Linked DNA regions of Homo sapiens: regions 1, 2 and 3 are each linked to region 4. Evidence: promoter capture Hi-C in 16 types of primary human blood cells and fetal thymus (Javierre and others, 2016). All regions are on one chromosome and are shown on one strand. The core of a region is centred on a gene start or on the middle of the fragment in contact, and the rest is flanking DNA. Distances in the headings are between cores, read along the strand shown.

Region 1 (2,717 bases), core at 198-2,697, 400 kb before region 4:
AGAGCAGGTCTCAGGCCAGCTGAGGCCAAATCTCTGGGACTACAGCTGAGGAAAAAGAACGCTTTCCACCTGCACTGCCAAGATGGGAAACAGAAGGCTGATCGTGGTGGGTGTCCCATATTGATAATTTTCTGGGGGCCTCTGGGGTCACTGGTATCCTGTGGTATCTGGGTTTGGGCTCTGTCATTGGCTCTGAGCTGAGCTCTGGGCTCCAGGCTCTGGGCTTGGGTTGGGTTGGTCCAAAGAGAATGTTGAAGATTATATTATTTAAGGGAATCACAGTGAGTTCAGCTTGTTAAGTACAGGGTTTGGCACACGATCACTGATCAAAACAGAATGAATGAATGCACACTATTTTTCACTGACCGCAGTTTTCCTAATAGACCCTCTCTGCTGGCTGGGGCCCTTTTCAAATAGGAAGGAGACAGGAATTAAGGGTTCCAATTCTTACACTTTCTGCTTTCTGCTTTGGTCAGCCTCTGTGACTTTGGGTCCTCATTTACAAATGAGACAGGGTAATCTCTATAGGGTCTTCCAGCTCTGGGATGACTGGGTCCTAAAGGGAGAGGGTTAGCAAGGCCTGAGAGCAGAGAGATTCCTTCCTGAGGTGGGAGAGAGGACTTCATGGGTGGTGGTGACTCCCCAGATATGAGTATACACTGGGTGTTGGAAGAATCTTGTCCAGAGAGAGAGGCATTGTGGGCTGGATCAGCAGTGACAGTAGGTCTGGGTGTTTGTGCCATAGCTGCTTCCTGATGGCACATTTTCCTTTGCTCTGCAGCCCCACACCCTGCTGACCCTGGCAGTCATTTCCCCTAGGTTTGTCTTACCAAGACCTGGGGCACAGGTGGGGACTGTTGAGAAGAAAGTTCATAGATGGGTAGTGATGGGATTTGCCTGCCTTTGGATCTGTGAGGTCATGGGTCTTGGGAGATAAGCTTCTGGTTAACTTGGGGGTCATTAGTATACAAGGAACAGAGCATCACTGGGGTCAACCCAAGTAAGGGAGACAAATAAGCCAAGAATCTGAGTCTTTCAGAAACCCAGACGGGACCCTAAAAGTGCAGGGTCTCAAGAGTCTAGGTGGAAGCTAGTTCCAGATCCCTGGTGGCTGGAGGACTTCAGTGACAGGACAGGTCCTCATACTCCTCACCGTGGTGCTGTGTCATTAACCCAACTAAGCCATGCCCAGTGTATCTGCTCCTCTGCCAGATATCACCGTTCTTCTCACAACCCTCTGTATTCTCTCTGTGTTTCCAGTTCCTTTTTACTTACGATTTCTCAATTTCAGCTTGCCATAACCTTCCACAGCCCTTCAGCACTCACGCCCCCATACTCTACTGTAAGACCTTTCTAGATGCATCTTTGTTTACCTTCTACTCCTACTACTAACTGACTTTCTCCAATTTTATAATCCAGATTTCCAAAAGCAAGAATATGATTTGCCATCACCTGGTCAGGTACCAAGTTCTTGTCCAGTGAGCTGTGTTGGGGTATAGCATAGTACAGTATTGCTGCCTAGAGAGGGCAAAAGAAGACGCTTTGATGGCATGCAAGGAGGCTGCTTGCAGTTGAGCAAGTTGTGCCATGCACAAGGGTAACTGACTGAGGGGGAAAGTAGGAGCTGTATCCTATCTGCACCACGTGGCAAGTCATGCATCTTTATGTGGGGCTGCATCAACCCAGAAGAAAGGAGAAAGGGGTGCCTTTGTCAGAAGAGAAGTGGCCCTGTGATGTGTCAGATACTATGATTAGCATATAATCTTTTTGTTACATAGGACAATGCATTTCTTATCTCTTCTCCATTTCACCCTGTGTCTGGTAGCTTTTGCTGCATAACAAACCAACCCTCCCTTAAATTAGTGGCTTAAAGTAATAACCATCTATTATTGCTTATGAGTCCAGGGGCTGGCTGGGTGGTTCTGCTAATTTGAGTCTGGTTTCGTTGCTCCAGGCTAAGCTTCTTTACGTGTGTGCCTTCAGCTGGAGGCTCAGCTAGGGGCTGGATGATCTAGGGTGGCATCGCTCACACAGCTGACAGCTCTGCTTCTGGAAGTTGACTGGACGTCACTTGGGGGTACAGGGGTAACAGGGCTACATGTCTGTCATCAATTAGCAAGCTAGCCTGGACTTGGTCACAGGACAGCTCAAGGTTCAAGGAAAGCAAATGGAAGCAGGTAAAGCCTCTTTTGGTGTAGGTTTAGAATTTGAAGTGTCTCTTCTGCCATATTCTTTCAGCCATTCACAAAAACCACCCCAGATTCAAGGGATAGGAAAAAAGACTCTTGATGGGATATGTTTCAAGTCACATTACAGAACGGAAAGTAGAAGAATAACTTACAGCCATTTTTGCAGTCTATCACACACCACCAACTCTGCCATGATGCTCCATCTGCCGGGGAAGAGGTGACCAGAGAGTGGACCTAAGCATAGCCCAAGGGAGCTCATGAGAACAGAAGTTCATGGGGGTACTCCTAAGCCTTGTATACATATCTAATAGTCTTAGATGTGGATTCAACTAGGTGTGGGTTGGGAGAAAGAAAACATGGAGCTTCTTTTTCACTAAGAGCCCCTATCTTTGCTCTTACAATTTATATAACTTGAAATTATCATAGTTGCCAATGCCTTCCTGAAACTTACGCCCCTGAGAACACTTTCTTAGCCATCATGGGTGTAGGGATAGGGATAGGAGGGATATGCAGATGAAGGAATGAGGT
Region 2 (2,786 bases), core at 271-2,770, 430 kb before region 4:
TGAATACCAACACTTGAGTTCTCAAGGGAACAACCCATGTCTAATCTCCACTCTACATTTTCTACAACGTTCAGAAGAGTGTCTCCCACTCACAGTCAATAGTACTTGTTCAAGATAATTCACCATAATGGAAAGTAAAAAAAAAAAAAAAAAAGTTTTCGAAGAATCTTCACTGTTCAGGATCATCATGAATTGACTCTTCTTCAAAGTAGACAATATCATTAGACAAAGCAGGTAAAAATCTTTGGGATTATTGCAATAAGACAGAAAGGAAAAAAAAAGAACAAATACGCAAAGATGTTTTAGAAGTCCGTCCCAAGTGGATAGTCTTACAAGCATAAAGATTATCAGGCAAATTCTGTAAACAGAATTATGTGTTCAACCTGCCCTCCACCCCTAAAGCTTGGTGCTTTGCATTTATAGTGTGTATGATGCTCAAGAGAATGGAACTACAGTCAATGTGCATAAAGCAGACGGAAGTGGATTACAGTTCAAAAGGAGCTGTCCAGCAATCAACAGTTTAAACATTACTGGAAGTGTTCAGACACCGTAAAATCATGTCTCAAAGATATTACAAGGATAATTTACAGGAGAAAGTTACCAGTAGAACTTCATGACCTATAGAAAACTGTTCTGGTTCCTTCTCCCAGCCTTCAGCACCGTGCCTTTACACTCATTCTGTAAAAGGCCCCAGTGCAGCTAAGAGGATGAATTTTTAAACACCACATACATCATGCCAACAACGAAGAATTAACAGATAAATACTGTTTCAATAAGGGGAACGTAATAATTTGTTCATAACCACCTCAGTAACTGAAACTGGGGTTATTAAAATCTTCAAGATATATTTTTAAAGGCACAAGAAGAGCCTGAAGCAGTGAGCGCCCAGCACCAAGTTGAAAAAACATAACGACTTAAGGTTTGCTGTACCAATTCCATTTGCCTTGATTTCGTACCAAGCGGCGCGTCAGAAAGTACACGGAAAACCTAAAGAGGGAAACCCAACTGGGAACCCTTGACTCAAAGCACGTGAACAAATGGTGACGAGATGAGTTAAGCCAGCGGGGTAAGAGAGAAGGGACTGCGCCTAAACGGGAGTACGCAAGGCCACCTAGAGGATGCACAGACCTGCATGCATACGTTCCTGACCCTTCCAGCAGCAGAACCATCTGGGCCGCCACCCGCTGATAACAACGGAACCGTGGGCATTGGCCCTTCAACGCCGTCTCGCCCGCCCTCTCCAGTCAGTTTGGTGGATATTTCGGTGAAGGCTGCAGACTCTCAGAGTCACCCCTCCCTCAAGCAGCGTTCTCCGTACTCTTCGGCGCCGGGAAGCTCAGAGGGAGCTGGCCTGCTCTTACCTTCAGGTGTCGGCGGCGGCTCCTGCCGCTTCCCGCGGGACAGGAAGGCCTTGGGCAGCAGCAGCGACAGAGCCAGGACAAGCCCAGAAGCCAGAGCGACTCTCTGCACTGTGGAGTACGCCATGACTGCTCACGGTGGTCGCAGGTGCAGACGCCAGCCGGAACCGGAACCGGAACCGGAGCACGGGCTGCCGCTCCCGACCGAACCGCGGGCGGCGCGGACGGCGTCGCGCGAGGGACAAGGTGCGCGAGGCGCACGCATCTTCACCTCCACTGTCGGGAGTTGACCTGCTCCTCCCGCGTGGTTACCCGTCGCTGTAAATGGTACCCTCGCCTTCCCGTTCATACTAACTAAAAACTCCTCCCTCACTCCCCATGTTCATCTTTTACTGAGTCCTGTGCATTCTACCGCCTACACATCCGGCGGTCGTGCCCGGATCTCTATCCCCACTTACCACCACTGCCCCCCACCCACCCGTAGATCACAACATCCAGTTTCTCCTCATCTCCATGATCTCGCTGTCTTCCAGCTTCCACTCATGCCCCTCGCATTCATTATCCGTCTGCAGCCACAGGTGATAATGCTAAAACACAAGACTAATTCTCTTTCTCTCCAGCTTAAACCTTTTAACTCTCCATTATCTTCAGAACAATAGTTAAACTCCTTTCTATAACCTCAACGCCCTGCATGATCTGGTCTTACCAATGCTCCTTCCAAACTGGATGATTTGCTATTTCTTTAGCATATTGCTTGTCTTCAGGGAAGCTTTGCTTGTCCTGTTCCCACTGCCTGGAAAATTCCTGACACCATCTCCAGTTGTCAAAAACTTCTCTGAAGAACAGCTTAAAAACACTGCTCTCTCGAAACGTTTTCAGTCAGCCTCTCCTTTCTCTACAATCCCACCGTTCTTTGTTACTCTCTTCATTCGTTCATTTAACATTATTTTAGTTTTTACTATGTATTAGACCCTCAACTTGGCACTACAGGGTCTGATGAATAAAATGGATTCCCTTTGTAGGACAGATAATTATCCAAACAAAAAAAATGCAGGAAATATTCTGGATCCCCGAGCAGTCTTCTCAACTGGTACGAGGAAAAGTCAAGAAAAGCCCCTTTGAGAAGGTGAAATTGAGTTAGCTGTTGAAAAATGAGTAACTTATAGGCAGACAGGTGGGAGGGGTTAGAAAGGTATTCCGGAAAAAGGAGGCCAAAAAAATAAAGGCAAATCTGGAAGCTTCCTGGTGTGTTCAGAAAGCTATTGGTAATTCATTTTGGCAGGGCCATAGAGTAGTGACAGGACACGAAGTGCACAAATATAAGCAGGAGCTACATTGTGAAAAGCTTAGGTAGAACTTCCAGTTAAACATGACAGATGTAACATATGCATTTATCTTTGCTTTCCTGGGACAGTGCCCAAAAAGGAA
Region 3 (2,823 bases), core at 314-2,813, 330 kb before region 4:
GGATACAGCACTGAACAAAACAAAGATTCCTGCTGCTATTATGGAGTTGACGATTCTTGCTCTGTAACTCATAAGGCAGGAAAAGAGACAGTGCCCATCTCTTCTCCTGGACCCTGCTTCTCCCCAGAATCCTGGGGCTGATGTTCTGGCTGCCTACCCTAGGAAGGCCACCTACCCACCTACTTTTTTTCTTTTCATTCCTTTTTCTTTCTTTCTGTTTTTTCTTTTTTAAGATGGAGTCTTGCTCTGTTGCCCAGGCTGGAGTGCAGTGGTGTGATCTCGGCTCACTGCAAGCTCCGGCTCCCAGGTTCCAGCGAATCTTCTGCCTCAGCCTTCCGAGTAGCTGGGATTACAGGCACACACCACCACGCCCAGCTAATTTTTGTATTTTTTAGTAGAGACGGGGTTTTACCATATTGGCCAGGCTGGTCTCGAACTCCTGACCTCGTGATCCACCCACCTCAGCCTCCCACAGTGATGGGATTACAGGCGTGAGCTGCTGCGCCTGGCCGGAAGGCCACCTACTTTTAAATCCCAAGTCTTTTTTCTTTGCCTAGACAGTACAGAGTTCCAAGGTGGGATAGAAATAATGATTTTTCTTCAGCCCAAGGAGGGCTCCAGACAGATGTGTTGGAGGCTTGGTCCTGGCAATCACTTCTGAGGACTAGACCCAGGGAAAGAGAAACGGGCTGAAGGGCCACCAGTTGGGATTCTATCTCATCTCTGCCAATTACCAACAGTGGACCTTAGCAAGTCTCTTTCTCTATCTGGGCCTCAGTTTCCTTGGCTGTGAGGTGGGAGACCTACTCTTCCTGTATCTATGGTTGCTGTGGGGGTCAGATGAGCTAATGCATGTTAATGTGCTTTGTAAACTGTGGCACTCCAGACAATGCAGGGGGATGGGGGGAGATTATCTGGTTTGAAGGAGACCTGGAGGCTAGGTCTTACCCTTTAAGCCCTGGGAGGCCCCAGTGCTTGACAGGGATGGGGAGCAGCGGGCTGCAGCCATATTCCTCTCTGCTAGGCAGGGAAGTCAGGCTTTGAGAAAACAGAAAAGCGCTGCTTCTAATGAGATGCCTCATCTGCAGCTCAGAGGGTTTCACTTTCCCCTTCATCTTGAATACTTAATCCTAATAGTCCTTGAGTATATTTGATGTTAAATATATCATTTTGCTCAGACTCACCAGCCTCAGGACTGCGAGCTTGATCTCTCCCCTGCCACTGCCGCCAGACCCATGCCCTCAGGGTCTGAGGGAGGCTTTGGCACCGCTGCCACCGGCATATTTGGTGCCAGCCCCTCACACCCACCAGAGCTGGGGGCTAGACAGTGTAGCAAGCACAGGGCCTGACAGGCTGGCAAGGGGCAACTTCTTGCCGTAGAAACCTCTGTGCTACTGGAGGCGTTCACTCCATCGGGGCTGCATGCAGCCTTACTACTGACCTCCAGGGGCAGATTCTCCTCACTTTCAGGGGCTGGCCCTGACCCACAAACCAGGACTGGGCTAGCTGTGGCCACTCTTCCACTCTCTTGTCCACGAGTTTGTCTGAATACCAGCTCACCTCAGCCTCCAAGGTACCTAATTGGCAGCCACATGACTGGCATCCCTTTGGGGAGTCAGGGCCCTGTGCCCCAAACCCAGGGACTGGAGCAGGCCTGGGGTGCTGAGCAATGGGCTGCAGAAGCAGGTAGGGCATGCCAGCAGGGGACTGGTGCTGTGTGTGCCCACAGGTGGCTCTTTCTGCACCCCCAGCTGTGAGCATGGTGCTCCCAAACTGATCTGGAGAGGAACCTTCACAGCAAGTCTTGGAGGGTTTGGGTGGCTTGAGCTTCCAGCCAGGAAGGGGCTTGCTGGGTTGACAGAGGCAGATAGAAACATCACTCACCCCATCTGATGGCCTCTCTCCACTCACTGGGCAAGCAAGTAACTCCCACCCCCATACTCGCCCCACCCCCATGCTCACCCCACCCAAGCTGCTTCTAGGTCCAGGGACACGCCCACAGCACCAGAGTGGAATCCTCAGATCCCCTGGGGCTGGGGGAGGTAGTTTTCCCCCAACACATTCCACAGGTGATGAGCATGTACTCTCACTTCGACAAGCCAAGAGTGCTCCAAAATGCCCTCGAAATGCCTCTGGGAATGGCAGGGAGAGGACAACTATCAATCCCCAAGGTTAGTTTAAGGAGAAAGTGGGTGCTACTGGCTGTCTTACAAATATCTGGGCAGGTCCCAGCAATTTGCCCCTCCACCTGGCAGGAAAGTCCCGAGGAAGAGTTCCTGCATTAGGAGTGGGGGTGGGAGATAGTGGGACCCAGGGCCTGAGGGCCCAGGCCGACTAGATATTACAGAAGTCTTTGGTGGAGACTGTCAGATGTGCCTCAGCCAGAGGGCCTGCTCCCAACACAATGCAGCTGCCTCCAAGACGGAGTTACAAGCTAGCCACACAGGTGATGCTCAGAGAGGTATTGGGGTGACGAGGACCCCTTCTCTGTGGCCACCACAGTTGACAGGACAGAGTAAACCTACAGACTTCGCAGTGCAATCAGGATGCCTGCTGGCCATGTTCAGATGCCCTTCCCTTCCCCCTGCTTACACAAAAGCAGCCAATGCACAGGAATTTGCAACCCGCTGGAGTGAAGAAGTGCACAGTCGGCAAACTTTTCCTCTTTTGGTTTCTGGAGAGCCTGGACAGGCCTTCTTGCAAGCAGCAGTTATAGATTGTTAGGCCTTGTGGAGGCCTAAGCCAAATCTGCACCATAGCAAAGAAATCTCCCCTACCCCTGCACCACAGCCCTGAGAAGGTTTTGGGTGTGCACTGACCAAC
Region 4 (2,700 bases), core at 123-2,622:
CTACTCCTGCTGCAGGGCAAAGAATGGATGGGAATATTGAAAGGAAAGGATAAATACCTTTAGATTAGTTAAGAGGCTACTACTGGACAACAGATCATGGTAGATTGGTCTAGGGTAATAGTAGCAGAGACAGAGATACTCAAATGGATTTGAGATTTGGTTTGAAGATAAAATGAATAGAACTTGATGATTGTTTGGATATGGAAAGGAAGAAAGTGCGAGGTGTCAAGGATGAGGCCAAGATTTCTGATTTGCAAACTAGAGGTTGGTATGACCCATTGAGATAGCAACAGAGATTTACACGAGCTAAAAATTTAAATGCGCGATATATCTGCATATCCATCACTGTCTAAAGGCACGGGCCTGGAGAACAAGGAAAGAGTTTGGGTTCAAAACTTGTTGATGTTCCTTTCCATTCACAGAGCCCTCTTTCAAGGCAGGACTATCCTATTTTCTGGTTGGATATTGGAGTCATTTGGTGGTCAGGCAAAAAAGAAGGTCCTTCTTAGCTGGTGATATGGGACGGGGAGCACCAGACCACTCTTAGCATGCAAATATCCCTTACTAACGCTCAAGTGCTTTTCACATGTACTGTTCACAAAACAGCTTCACATATAGGTTCACTGAAACCCACGACCTTGTGAGAAATTATAATCTACATTTAGGAAGCTGAGGGAGAGTTCTTAAATTACCTGTCCACAGAGCCAGTACGGGGCTGCTTTATGTCATCCTTTCACCTCCTATGTGCAGCCTCTAGGTGCAAGAGACTATCTTAAGGGCAACAGGAAACCTACCATATAATGGGGTCCCACTAGGTACCAGGCTCTAGCAGTTTAAAAAAAAGAAACACAACTTCAGAACTTCTAAGGATGTTTCCCACACACTTACCCCACAGTAAGTTCGCTTCTAAACTTTCAAAAAGTTTCACGTCCCAAGATGGGGTGAAGGTGAGACGGTGGAGATGAACCGGGGCAGACAGAGACCACCCCAAATACCGGACCCGGGGGAAATGGGGTACCAACGGCTGGGCCCCAGGAGACACTCGGAGGGGTCCGCGGGCTCGGCCCGGTCCCTCCGCTGGGGGGTTACCAGCCGGCCGGCAGCGAGATACCCAGAGGCCCGTTTTTCCACCGCGTTGCCATAGCAACGGCCTGGCCGGCTGCGCCCCGGGCCGCCCGCCCCATCCCGCGGGCCCGCCCTGAGCCAGTGACTCCAGGGACCACTCACCGCGGCCGGCGGACTGGCGGGTCTCCGACAGGTGCGCACACTCGGCGCAGGCTGTCGCTGAGCCCGGAATTCTGCACCGGGAGAAACTTTTCAGCCCGCAGAGCAACCGCAGGGCAGTGGACGGGGGCCGCGCGAGGACAAACAGCGGCGGCGGGTGCAAAGCCCCTTCTCCAAGCCGCGGGGTTGGCCGGGAGGTGCCGGCTGCACAACGGCGCCCACGTGACCCAGGTGCAGCCCCAGGCGCGCCCAAGGGCAGCTCGCCTTAGAGAAGGACCTAAAACCCCGTCTGGGGCACAGAGGAGCAGCCACGTGTTACGTAAAATAAAGCTTTGTAGCAGGAATATCACAGTACTGAGGTGATTGATGCTCAGGCCACTCTTCTCACTCGGAGTCAAGCCCATCAAGCCCCAGCCAGTTGGAGCAAGGGCTGCAAGCCTTGAACTGCAGTGAGTGGGGAGCTGGCCTAAAAAGACGGGAAAATGCTGGGGGGAGGGTGTTTGTCCCCACGCAGGGGCTGAGAAGACTCCTGACAGATCAAATGACGATTCTCAGGGATATGTTTTAGCTACAAACCTATGAGAACCATCTGAATGCCTGCCCCATGCAACAGAGGGTCCAGCTGTATGCTAATGTATTTACTGGCCTGAACTAAGAATGGCTTCTGTGGTCCTGGGTCCTACTCTCTAGCAGTGTGGGGAAGAAATTCAACTCTCCTAATACTAGCCTAATTATTTGAGGCAGATGTTCTCTAAAATTAGCTGATTGATAGCCAGTAACTTGATACGGCAGGTGGATTCATTGTATTGCTTCGGGGGAGGCTACATTTGGCAACTAGTTCATCCAGTCCTTTTCATCAAAAAACTCAAAATGGTCATAATGGGTGACTGGTAACTTCAAACTTCAAACCACTGGACTAGGCCGGGCGCAGTGGCTCACACCGATAATCTCAGCACTTTGGGAGGCCAAGGCAGGAGGATTGCTAGAACCCAGAAGTTCAAGACCAGCCTGGGTAACACTGGGAGGCCCCCATCTCTACAAAATTAAAAACTACCTGGCCACCAAAGGGCTGCAAGAAACCTACCATATAATGACGTCCTACTAGGTACCAGGCTCTAGGAGATTAAAAAAGATCTCCTAGGATAATCTCCCGCATCTTAAGGTCCTTAATCACATCTGTAAAGTGCCCTTTGCATATAAGGTAACATATTCACAGGTTCCAGCCTGGGCGACATAGCCAGCCCTGCCTCTAAAAACAAAAGCAACCACTGGACTGCGTTTTGCCCTGGATTAAACCAGACCACCAAAAAACTGTATGTTTGTACCATTTTGTCTTCACCGTTGGCAACATTGCATGAACCAAGTCATGTTTAGCACTATGCCATTTGCTTATATTAAGAGATGCTGTTTAAAAAAATTCATGATACCTCTGCATTTACTAGAGGGATTACTTTAAGAATGTTGTTTATTACATCT

Evidence for each region. Contacts are between HindIII fragments. The CHiCAGO score rates a contact against its expected background, and 5 or more counts as called.
Region 1: a fragment that was not itself captured here is called in contact with the fragment with the promoter of STK33 in region 4 in 5 of 17 cell types (total B cells, M0 macrophages, M1 macrophages and 2 more); the score reaches 9.3 in total B cells.
Region 2: the fragment with the promoter of RIC3 here is called in contact with the fragment with the promoter of STK33 in region 4 in 8 of 17 cell types (naive B cells, total B cells, endothelial precursors and 5 more); the score reaches 8.8 in naive B cells.
Region 3: a fragment that was not itself captured here is called in contact with the fragment with the promoter of STK33 in region 4 in 1 of 17 cell types (M0 macrophages); the score reaches 5.8 in M0 macrophages.

The regions. Positions count from the first base shown.
Region 1 is chr11:8,193,882-8,196,598 of GRCh38, forward strand. No RefSeq gene overlaps it. Among named protein-coding and RNA genes, the nearest start is that of RIC3-DT, 26 kb to the left of the region's middle. The HindIII fragment of the contact is 1,022 bases long and covers 937-1,958 here.
Region 2 is chr11:8,167,505-8,170,290 of GRCh38, forward strand. It overlaps RIC3 (RIC3 acetylcholine receptor chaperone), which reads right to left and starts at 1,521. Exons shown (of 6, transcript NM_001206671.4): 1 at 1,362-1,521. The coding sequence starts at 1,485. RIC3-DT (RIC3 divergent transcript) reads left to right here and starts at 1,566. Exons shown (of 5, transcript NR_187234.1): 1 at 1,566-1,685; 2 at 2,381-2,484. The HindIII fragment of the contact is 1,725 bases long and covers 401-2,125 here.
Region 3 is chr11:8,264,420-8,267,242 of GRCh38, forward strand. It overlaps a transcript of LMO1 not described here. Among named protein-coding and RNA genes, the nearest start is that of LMO1, 2.0 kb to the left of the region's middle. The HindIII fragment of the contact is 3,262 bases long and covers 1-2,823 here.
Region 4 is chr11:8,592,856-8,595,555 of GRCh38, forward strand. STK33 (serine/threonine kinase 33) reads right to left here and starts at 1,373. Exons shown (of 16, transcript NM_001352389.2): 1 at 1,228-1,373. RefSeq lists a silencer at 936-1,195. The HindIII fragment of the contact is 2,062 bases long and covers 1-1,552 here.